Regions from separate parts of the Homo sapiens genome. Here region 2 is linked to region 1. Evidence: promoter capture Hi-C in 16 types of primary human blood cells and fetal thymus (Javierre and others, 2016). All regions are on one chromosome and are shown on one strand. The core of a region is centred on a gene start or on the middle of the fragment in contact, and the rest is flanking DNA. Distances in the headings are between cores, read along the strand shown.

Region 1 (4,989 bases), core at 1,658-4,157:
TTCAGAAAAGGCATAATGTATTATAAAAATTCAAAGCTGAGATCTATTTACTTCAGCATATATAAAATTCCCCCTGAATAGGGGACATTTTGTTACTCTGAGAAGAGACAATTTCCCTCTGAATTTCTCCCAGTTTCTTCCTGATACCTCCTGTGTTCTGAAATGCAGATTCTAGTGCAATTGGGCCTCAGAAAGAACTGGACCCTTTACAATGTGAAAGTCACCAAGTGCAATGATTCTAGCCAAAGTGACCCATTTTAAAAGATGACCCATTTCAAAACCCATGAGTTATTATTCAAGCTGTTCTATTTTTGAGAATTAGAAAGTTTTCTTTTTCTTTTTTTTTTTTTTTACAATCTCACCATTTGAATGTCTTTTATGAAAAGAGAAAACTGATCACCATTTTAATGAAATACAATGTTTCATTTTTTACTTGATGGGGCCTGCACTTTATTTTGAAAACTCTTCTGCACCTTCTGAGTTTTCTCTGGGCAGAGCAGTTATAAGCATCTCTACCTCCTACTCATCCTCATCTCCCACTTTCTCAGGAACAGCTGCTCTGAGCTTTGGCTTGGGCCTTTCCTGTGATAACACTGGTTCTACCTTAGAGCCTTGCAGGGCCGGGAAGGGTCAGCCTGAGTCAGCCTCCTCCTCAGAGTGCTCAGTCAATGCTCAGAGCGTGTGCGGGAGGATAAGGAAGAGTGAGAAGGACAAGCAGGTTAAGTACAGAATGGAAACCTTTCTGGTATTGCGTTTAGCTTGCTTTAAAAGCAAAGAGTTGGCCCCAAAAAGCAGCTTTCACCTCCTCACTTGTGACCAGATAGAAAATCTACCATAAATTTATTTTGAGAAAGTTATAACGTCTGCTGCTGATCACTAATCACCCTTTCAGAAAGTTCAGGGTGGAATCATTTCGGTGCCACCACTTAATACAACTACCTTCAATCATCCTTTTCTGGGTCAACTTCGGCTTTTCACATTCCTCTCCCATCCCCCACAGGGAACAGGCAAGGTTTCCCAAAATAAAGGCACAGACGCACAAATCCAATTCTGATGGATGTACTTTCATCAGATAATTACCATAAATATGAGCCTCAGGCCACCATCGGCCACTGTGCGGTTACCACATCGGTGTACCTTTAACATGATCCATAACCTAAGAAAACCAACACCGGCCAAGAATGTACAGGGTGTAGTCAAGAGTCGAGTTGAAAACTGTTACTTTTACCTATATGGTATCCAAGCAAGCAATTGCCTCTGTCACATCAGGATTCAAAATGAAATGAGGCAGAGTCAAAGGAAAGAGTGGCCACGACCTCCCCGCCAGGGAGATCTGCGGCTGCAGTCTCCCCGCCTGCCCACTTCCCTGTCCCCATTTCCCCCGCCAGTAACTCGCCGAAAGCGTTCTCAGGTTGGCGGTTTCTTCTTTCCAGCCCGACACGGGCTTTCGACTCGAATTCAGCCCTCCAGCCGGAGGCGGGTGGCCGCAAGCCTGGGGCCCCCGGCCGGCAACCGAATTGGTGGGCGCGGCGTTCGCCTCGCGGCTCCCGCGCACGGGCCTGTCCCGCCACCGAGGAGCCGGAGCTCCTCAGGGACGGGGACCCGCAGGCCCCGGGAAGCCGCCCCAACCGGAGCTGCCCGGCCCCCGAGCCTACCTGCCGCACCTGGGCGGCGGCCCGGCCTGGGTCCCAGCCGCTGGCCACCCGCGCGGGCAGGCCGGAGGGAACAAAGGCGTTCCGGGGAGGGGACGAGCCTCCTTCTCCGCCGCGCTTTCAGAGGGCGGGCTGCCGGGGCCCGCGGTGGGAGAGGCCTCCCCGGCTTCCCGACTTCCCGGCGCTGGGCCGTGCGCGGTCCGGGCCAGGGCGGCGGGCCCCGATCCGGTGTCCACGCCAGCCACGCGCCCCCGGCCCAAGCGCGCGTTCCCACCTGAAGTCCTGGCGCCACCCGCCGGGCGAGGGCCGGCGTGCCCTCACCTCCTCGCCACTCTTCTCCTCCAGAGACCTCGCTCGGCCCGGAGTGGGCAGACTCGGAGCCTCCCGCGCCGGAGACCGCGAGCCGCTCGGCCGAGGAGGCGCGGCGGGGCGGGGGCGGGGCGGAGGGGCCGGCCCGCAGCCCCCAATGCCGGGAGCCCGCGCTGGAGACCCAGGGAGCCCAGCTCGGGGCCGCGGCACGGAGAACGAACCATCCGTGGCCTGGAGACGTATCCCGCCGAGCGGCCAGAACTTTCCCCATTTAGCGATCCGGAAAGGAAGCCAACACTCCCACCCAGAGAGGCCTCGGCCGCGGAAAGATGCGGCCGCGGCACAGCCGTGTTTTCACCACGTAACTGACCACAGACTAACTCCGCGCGGAACCACCGGCCCAGGGCGCTCCGCCAAGAGGCGGACTGTGCTGGCCTCGCGGGCCCTACGCCCAGGGAACGCCGCGGTTCCTCCCACACGGGACACCGGTTCCGCAGCGCCGCGGATTAGGATGGTCTTTTACTTTCCGAGCGGGAGCTCTAACGCAGGCTCAGGCGGGTCTTGTTAAAAGGTTTCTGGTCACACCACTTATGCGTGGAGCTCTGGGGGCCTCAGTAACAAAGTAAGGAAACTTACAGCAAACTAGGGCTGCACTGCCGCTGTCCGTTTCTAAAATACGAGAAGAGGGGGAAACCCCGCCCCAGGCCAGCTTCCCAGTGACTTTACCTCCAAGTCCAGCTTCATTTCAAGGGCAGTTTAGAGCGAAACTCACGAAGTTCAAGCCCAGCTCTTTAAATGTCCAAATCGGAGGTCGGCTTTCCTTCCCGCATCGGAGCTAAAGTCGCTGGTCTCAAGAACAAAACTTGCGGGCTTTAAATCTTGGGCGAGGACTGGACGGGCAGCGCTGGACTGGGCTCGCTTCCCCGGCGGGATGCGGGCTGTATGCGGGCGGGATGGGGGCGGGCCCGGGCGGGGGCGCGAGGCTCCCAGCCGCGCGCCCCGCACTCTCGGCGTCACGGCCCGAGCCCGGCCCCGCCCGCCAGCCGCCACCCTCCCGGCGCGTAGGTGAAGGTGATGGGCCCCGCCCCAGTTTGTTCTTGTCTGTAGATGAGAATTCCAGGAAGTGTTTCCCTGCCGCTCGTCAGTTAATTGCGATCACTTACTCAAATGGCCAACTGGAAGCCAGAGTGCACATGAATGTCCTCTTTGAGCTATTTTCCTCCTTTAGAATACTTCATGCAGGTAACCAGACAATATCGAGAGATGCGGACTTCTACTCAACGAGAGAGATTATAAATGAATCCTGGATGCGCTTGATTTCTTGTTTCCCGCATGTTGTTAGACCTCTCCCTAAAGCCACAAAACATTTAACGGAGATAATATTTTGAGCGATTCTGTTATTGTACATATTTCAGAACATGACAGAAAAGCAAAAGATTAACCCAAATACTTTAGTAAAATAAAAGCTTTGAGTTTGTCGTAAAAGGAACAAGACAGGTAATGAGTTAAATGTATGATTGTCGAATCAGGGTTTAAAACAGTGGGGCCAGCAGACACGGTGGCTCACACCTGTAATCCCATCACTTTGGGAGGCTGAGCCGCAGGAGGATTGCTTGATCCCAGGAGTTAGAGACCAGCGTGGCCAACATAGCAAGACCCCATCTCTAAAAGAAAAAACACACACACAAAATGAAAACTGTTGTTCATTCAAACTAGATTTTTAGGAAGTTTTTAAATTGCTTTCCTTAAGCTGGTCAGCATCTTTTAAATCATGCAGTTCTTTTCATATGCTGCCTACACAGGGCATGGCTCAGCATCTCCCAGACTGTGGCACTGCATGTTCATCAGACCACAGACAGAAATATTTACATGTGTGATTTGCAAAGGAGTCATTGACAGTGACCCACAAATAAGCTGATTCATTGTTAATACAGCACTAATGACATACCTTCTCTAATAAAATGCTGACTGAAATCCCACATGCATTTCCCCCAGCCATCACATGTGTATGTTGTATATCTGTGCAAATATTCAATTACAATTATATTCCTTTCAGATCATTTGGAGCTAGGTCCATGTGTCAGTATACATATGTTCCACATACATGAGCACATAGAACTGTACCCACGAGAAATACAAACTGACCAAAACAGTGGTAGACACACATACAAATCACATATTCACATCATACTAGATACAGATAAACACACCAGATAGATAAATGGTTTCAAAAGTATGTCTGGAGATTGGAAATACGATGCAAGTTTTTTGGTGGTAGGAGGGAGAGATGAGAGGGTGTGAAGGAGAGATAGGCAAGGTCAAGTAGTCCAGAATGCCCACTCTGGGATCCACACAAGCTCAGATCACACATGCGAGAGGACAGGCAAGTCCCCTTTGCTTGTTAGGGAAGATTTCCTAGAGCAGCCTGGCTTCCTGTCCCACCCAGAGAGAGGGGAAGAGAATGACAGATTTGATGGTATTGATGGTGCTATGCTCAGTTACTTTTATCAAGAGGGAGTGCATGAAGATATTGAGATGTGTTAGAAATAAACTTAGGTAATAATAATGATGCTGACTTGGCCAGCATGAAGAAGGAGGACCGTGTTGGCATGCTTTCCTTATCCAAGTAGCAGCTGGTAAGCAGAGAGCCCTGTGATTAGATCTATACATGACTTTGGAATGACCAAAATCTGCATGTTAGACTCGGCAGGGATAGATAAGGCACAGAAAGAGCAGAGGAGTAGCAGATTTAGGAGAGATGATCAGAGAGTAAGGCACATGCATCATTAGTAGTGGGGAGGGGAGACTAAACCCTGAGTACAAGAGAACCTGGGAGATGGTGGGAGCAACAGGGGCCCAAGGAAGAGGCCTGTGTTACTAAAATCATGAAAGGAGAAGCAGGTCTGATAACCGAGTGGCTTAACACAGCTGAAGTGTAGCAGCAGTATCAGGCTTGACCTGTTTAGCGAAATTTGTCTTTCTGGATTCTGTTAGACCAGATTTCCTCACAGGCCCTATAGGGAACCTG
Region 2 (4,989 bases), core at 1,411-3,910, 150 kb before region 1:
ATCCCTGAATCTTAAGTATTTTATGAGCCACTCGAAAAGTTGGCTTATTAATAGTCACTTTCTTCCAAAGAAAAACTGTTAGCTAAAGCTAGAGGATTTACTTTGTAGTCTTTAAACATGCAGAAATAATACATACATAATTCTTAAATAAGGATAATAAGCCTGTTAAGGAAGAAATGTTTGCCTAATTGCATTTCCCATGCTAAGCACTAGAGTCTTAAACAAACAAAAAGTCTAATAATCTAATAAAGTTATAACCTCCCATTATCATGGCAAGGTGGCAGCACCACTATGCACTTTTATTTAGTATAGAAGACTTTCTGTATTTAGAGGACTTTACTGTGAGGGAGTTATAAGTACAAACTGTATGCATGTGGACAAACTACAGGTGTTCAAAATGAGCACAGAGGCTTAGAAGAGTTGCCTCTGGATTTCTTTGTTCAGTTATTTGAACTGAACCTGTCCAGCCCAGGTTTTGGATTGTGTGTCTGTTTTTTTCTACCTATTGTTAGATCAGTTCACATTCATTTTAGCTTTCTCTTTCAATACCCTGGGAAGCTAGAATTAATTAAATTGCTGTGGGGAAAGAGGTCCTTCTGCCTGTTTCTCCTCTTTAATCCCCAATTTAAGACTAACCATATTTCATGAAGGCCTGCGGGAGCTGGGCACTGGGCCAGGTCTAAGGATGGGATATGAAGGAGTGGGGATAACCCCTGCCCATGGCCATAGGTCCCTAGGGGCCAGAACCAGGCCACCACCTCCACTGCTGCAGCCGCAGCATCCTGCGCAGCTCCTCAGGTGTAATGGGGGCCAGGAGGAATGAAGGAATGTCCTTCTGGAGCCTGCGGTCTAATGGGGAGGTAGACATTAAGCAAACATAAGACAGTATTTAGGCAAAGTTAGCCATCATTCCCAGGTCGCTCGTGGAGTCCCAAGCCTCCCCAGGGTTCTCTTTCATTGTTGGGCTGATGTTGTGGTCTCCTGGCCTCTCTACTCTGGGCTCCAGTTTTCACAGTGGCTGCCTTTCTTTTGCACTTGGTTGGTTTAGTTGTGAAATCCAGCTCTTTCTCCCAGTGTCTCAAAAATCATGCACACAGAAGATTGGGGGGGACAAGGTAATTTTCCGAAGATGGGAGAGCAAATGTTTACCGTCTAGCAACACAGACACTTTGAAATGGAGCCGGAGGCATCTTTGTGTCAAAAGTGTCCCCTGGCCACCCTAGCCCTCAGGGTTTCACAGGCCCTTACCCTCACCAATTTACTGGCACCTCCCATACCCCATAGCATCTTTCTCTTTCCTCTTTTTTCTCCCCCGCCGTGAAGAGGGTTTGGTGCAGGACCTAGACTAGAATGACAGGCCTTATGAACTCTTGCATTCTCATCCTCCTATTCTTCATTCCATTTTATTTCTATTGCAATATTTATACCTCTAGCCTTGCTTGCAAAGGAGGAACAAGCCCGCAGGCTGTGAAATGGGATTTTAGACCTTGACATATTCTGCAGAAATGAGAAGGAAAATTCCACTACACAAACCTCATATGTGAGGTGACCATTTTCTCCCTCAGTGCCTTGGGAAAACTGACCCAGATTTTAAAAAGAAAGATCATGTTTCCTGGTCATTTTCTGTGGCTTTGCAGTAGAATCTAAAAAAGAAGCAGAAGAAAGAGGGAGGAGAATGAGCATTATGTGATATTTCATAAGGGTTTCAAAACCTCTGTTTATAAAACTAACATATCATCCATATTTAAGGTTTGGAAGACTCAAGATGTCAATTCTTCCCAAATTGATCCATGAATTAAACACGACTTCAATAAAAAATCTATTGTATATTTTTGTAGAAATTGAGAATCAGCTAAAAGAGATACTATAGTAGGCAAAAAGAACTATAATAACAATTTTTTTTTAAAAGAGTACATTTGGAGGACTCACATTACCTAATTTTAAAACTTACTTTAAAGCAAAGTAATCACGACAGTGTGGTATTGGCAAAAGGATAGACATATAGATCAATGGAGCAGAGGAGATATTCCAGAATAGTATCATACAAATATGGCCAAATGATTTTTGACAAAGGTATAAAGGCAGTTCAGTGGAGTATGATGTAGTGGCAATTTCAACAAATGGTGCTGGAACAATTAGACATCTGTGTGCAAAACAATTGAATCCTTATGTATACCTCACCCCATATAGAAAAATTCACTCAAAGTGGATCATGGACCTAAATGTAAAACCTAATAAAAAATCTGTTAGAAAACATAGGAGGAAATCTTTGTGACCTTAGTTGGTCACAAAGACCAAAAGTCTGGTTCATAAGAGAAATTTGATTTAAGTTAGATTTTGGTAACGTTGACATTTTTTTTTCTCTGCAAAAAATACTGTTAAGAGAATGAAAAGACAACCCACCATCTGGGGAAAAAAGATTTGTGAATAGGCTGGGTGTGGTGGCTCACGCCTGTAATCCCAGCACTTTGGGAGGCCAAGGTGGGTGGATCACCTGAGGTCAGGAGTTCGAGACCAGCCTGGCCAATGTGGTGAAACCCCGTCTCTACTAAAAATACAAAAATTAGCTGGGCATGGTGGCAGGCGCCTGTAATCTCAGCTACTCGGGAGGCTGAGGCAGGAGAATCGCTTGGACCCGGGTGGCAGAGGTTGCAGTGAGCCGAGATTGTGCTACTGCACTCCAGCCTGGACAACAAGAGCAAAACTCTGTCTCAAAAAAAACCAAGACTTGTGAATAGCATATCTGACAAAGGACTCGATCCAGAATGTATAAAAAGAACTCTCAAGCTGAGTAATAAAATACTCAAATGACCCAATTTAAAAATGGGCAAAAGATTTGAATGGATACTTTATCAAGGAAGATATAAGATATACAGATGGCAAAAAACACATGAAAATATGCTCAATATCAGTAGTCATCAGTGAAATTGTGTACCTGTTAGAGTGACTAAAAAAAATGACGATACCAAGACATGGTGAAGATGACAAGGGACTGGATATCTTACACGCACTGTTGGTAGGAATGTAAAATGGTACAGCCATGTTGGAAAACAGTTGGCAGTGTCTTATAAAGTTAAACATACATTTAATATACGACTCAGTAATCGCAACCCAAGAAAATGAAAACTCACGGTCACTCAAAAATCTGTTCATGAATATTTATAGCAGCTTTATTCTTAATCAGTAAAACCTAGAAGCAGGGCCAGGTGTGGTGGTGGCTCACGCCTGTAATCCCAGCACTTTTGGGAGGCTGAGGCAGGCAGATCACTTAAGGTCAGGAGTTCGAGACAGCCTGGCCAGCATGGTAAAACCCTGTCTCTGCTAAAAATACAAAAATTAGCTGGGCATGGTGGCTTGCGCCTATAACCCCAGCTACTGGGGAGGCTGAGGCATGAGGATTGCTTGAAGTCGGGAGGCGGAGGTTGCAGTGAGCCAAGATCACGCCACTGCACTCCAACTGGGCGACAGAGTGAGACCCTGTCTAAAAAATACAAAATGAAACTGGAAACAACCCAGGTGTCCCTCACCTGGAGAATTGATAAACTGAGGTACATCTGTCCAGTGGCATATTCAATAATGAAATGATTTATTGATACAGATGATAATATGAATACATCTGAAATATATTATGCTAAGATAAAGATGTCAGATTCAAAAGGTACATACTAATCTTTCTATGATACTGGGAAAAGGTAAAACTATAGGAATGCAGTGATTTCCAGGGGTTAAGGGTGGGTGAGTGGTTTGACTCACAGGGGCAATCAACTATATTGTATCCTGATTGTGTCGATGCTTAAACGACTCCATGCATTTGTCAAAACTCATAGAACTGTATTCCCAAAAGAGTGACTTATACTATTGGTTAAAAAAACAAATTTAAGAAGAATTAGCAAACAAAAACAATACAGAAAAAATAATACATGCTCATTGTTCAATATTTGGAAAATACAGAAAAGTACAAGAAAGAAAGTCTATAATCCCATTTTCTAATAATAATCAGTTACCTTTTGAGCTATATCTCTCTAGCTTTTTGTTCCTTTGGCATTTTTACATAGTTAAGATTATATGATCTAGCTTTCTTTATATGTATAATACATATTACAGATAGAATTATATAGATTATATTCTGCTTATGAAAACTATACTGTACATTCAATTATATTGTAAATTCTATTAAGACATCTCCATAGATAATATTTTAACGGCTTTATAATTTTTTGCTACATGATTTCACCATAAATTACGTTGTTCATATAGGTTATTCCCAGTTTCCCAATGTTATTTTTAAGATGCAAGGAGCATCTTTAGTCAGAAATTTTTGCACACATTTCAGATTTTTTTTTTCTTTCTGTTTTTGAGATGGAGTCTTGCACTGTCGCCTGGGCTAGAGTGCAGTGGCAAGATCTCGGCTCACTGCAACCTCCGCCTCCCAGGTTCAAGTGATTCTTCTGCCTCAGCCTCCCGAGTAGCTAGGATTACAGGCGCCCACCACCATGCCCGGCTAATTTTTTTGTATTTTTAGTAGAGACGGGGTTTCACCATGTTGGCCAGGCTGGTCTCGAACACCTGACCTCGTGATCCACCCATCTCGGCCTCCCAAAGTGCTGGGATTACAGGCGTGAGCCACCACGCCCAGCCCATATTGTTTTACAAGTAGAATTCTAGAAAATATTATTGGATTAGAGAGTGTAAGTGTGAAGTTTTTAAATACGTTTTGGTCAGATTGCCTTCTGGGAAACTTACACCCATCAACAGGATGTGGGGTTCTTGTTTTCACTTGATCTGTTTATCAGCACTTGTGATTTTGTATGACATATGAGCTAATGACAGAACTTACAGGGTTGTTTTAAAACAATGCATGTTAAGGGAATGATGCCGTACCTGTAATATTAGCCTTCTGGTGATGCCTATTTTTATTGTTTCTTATTTGAATTTTTGCTTGTTTGATAGATAAATGTGTTATTGTATTCATTTTAATGAATTTTAAAA

The links. The method cuts DNA at HindIII sites, captures the fragments that hold promoters and counts their contacts. A CHiCAGO score of 5 or more calls a contact.
Region 2: a contact is called between a fragment that was not itself captured here and the fragment with the promoter of B3GNT5 in region 1, in 2 of 17 cell types (M2 macrophages and erythroblasts). The highest score is 5.2, in M2 macrophages.

What each region holds. Positions count from the first base shown.
Region 1 is chr3:183,251,171-183,256,159 of GRCh38, reverse strand. It overlaps B3GNT5 (UDP-GlcNAc:betaGal beta-1,3-N-acetylglucosaminyltransferase 5), which reads right to left and starts at 2,907. Exons shown (of 2, transcript NM_032047.5): 1 at 2,688-2,907. All of the region lies in intron 15 of MCF2L2 (MCF.2 cell line derived transforming sequence-like 2), which reads left to right. LOC124906310 (a long non-coding RNA gene) reads right to left here. Exons shown (of 3, transcript XR_007096189.1): 3 at 3,605-3,625. The HindIII fragment of the contact is 12,746 bases long and covers 1-3,429 here.
Region 2 is chr3:183,404,230-183,409,218 of GRCh38, reverse strand. The region is part of intron 1 of MCF2L2 (MCF.2 cell line derived transforming sequence-like 2); the gene reads left to right. Among named protein-coding and RNA genes, the nearest start is that of MCF2L2, 22 kb to the left of the region's middle. The HindIII fragment of the contact is 5,697 bases long and covers 1-4,989 here.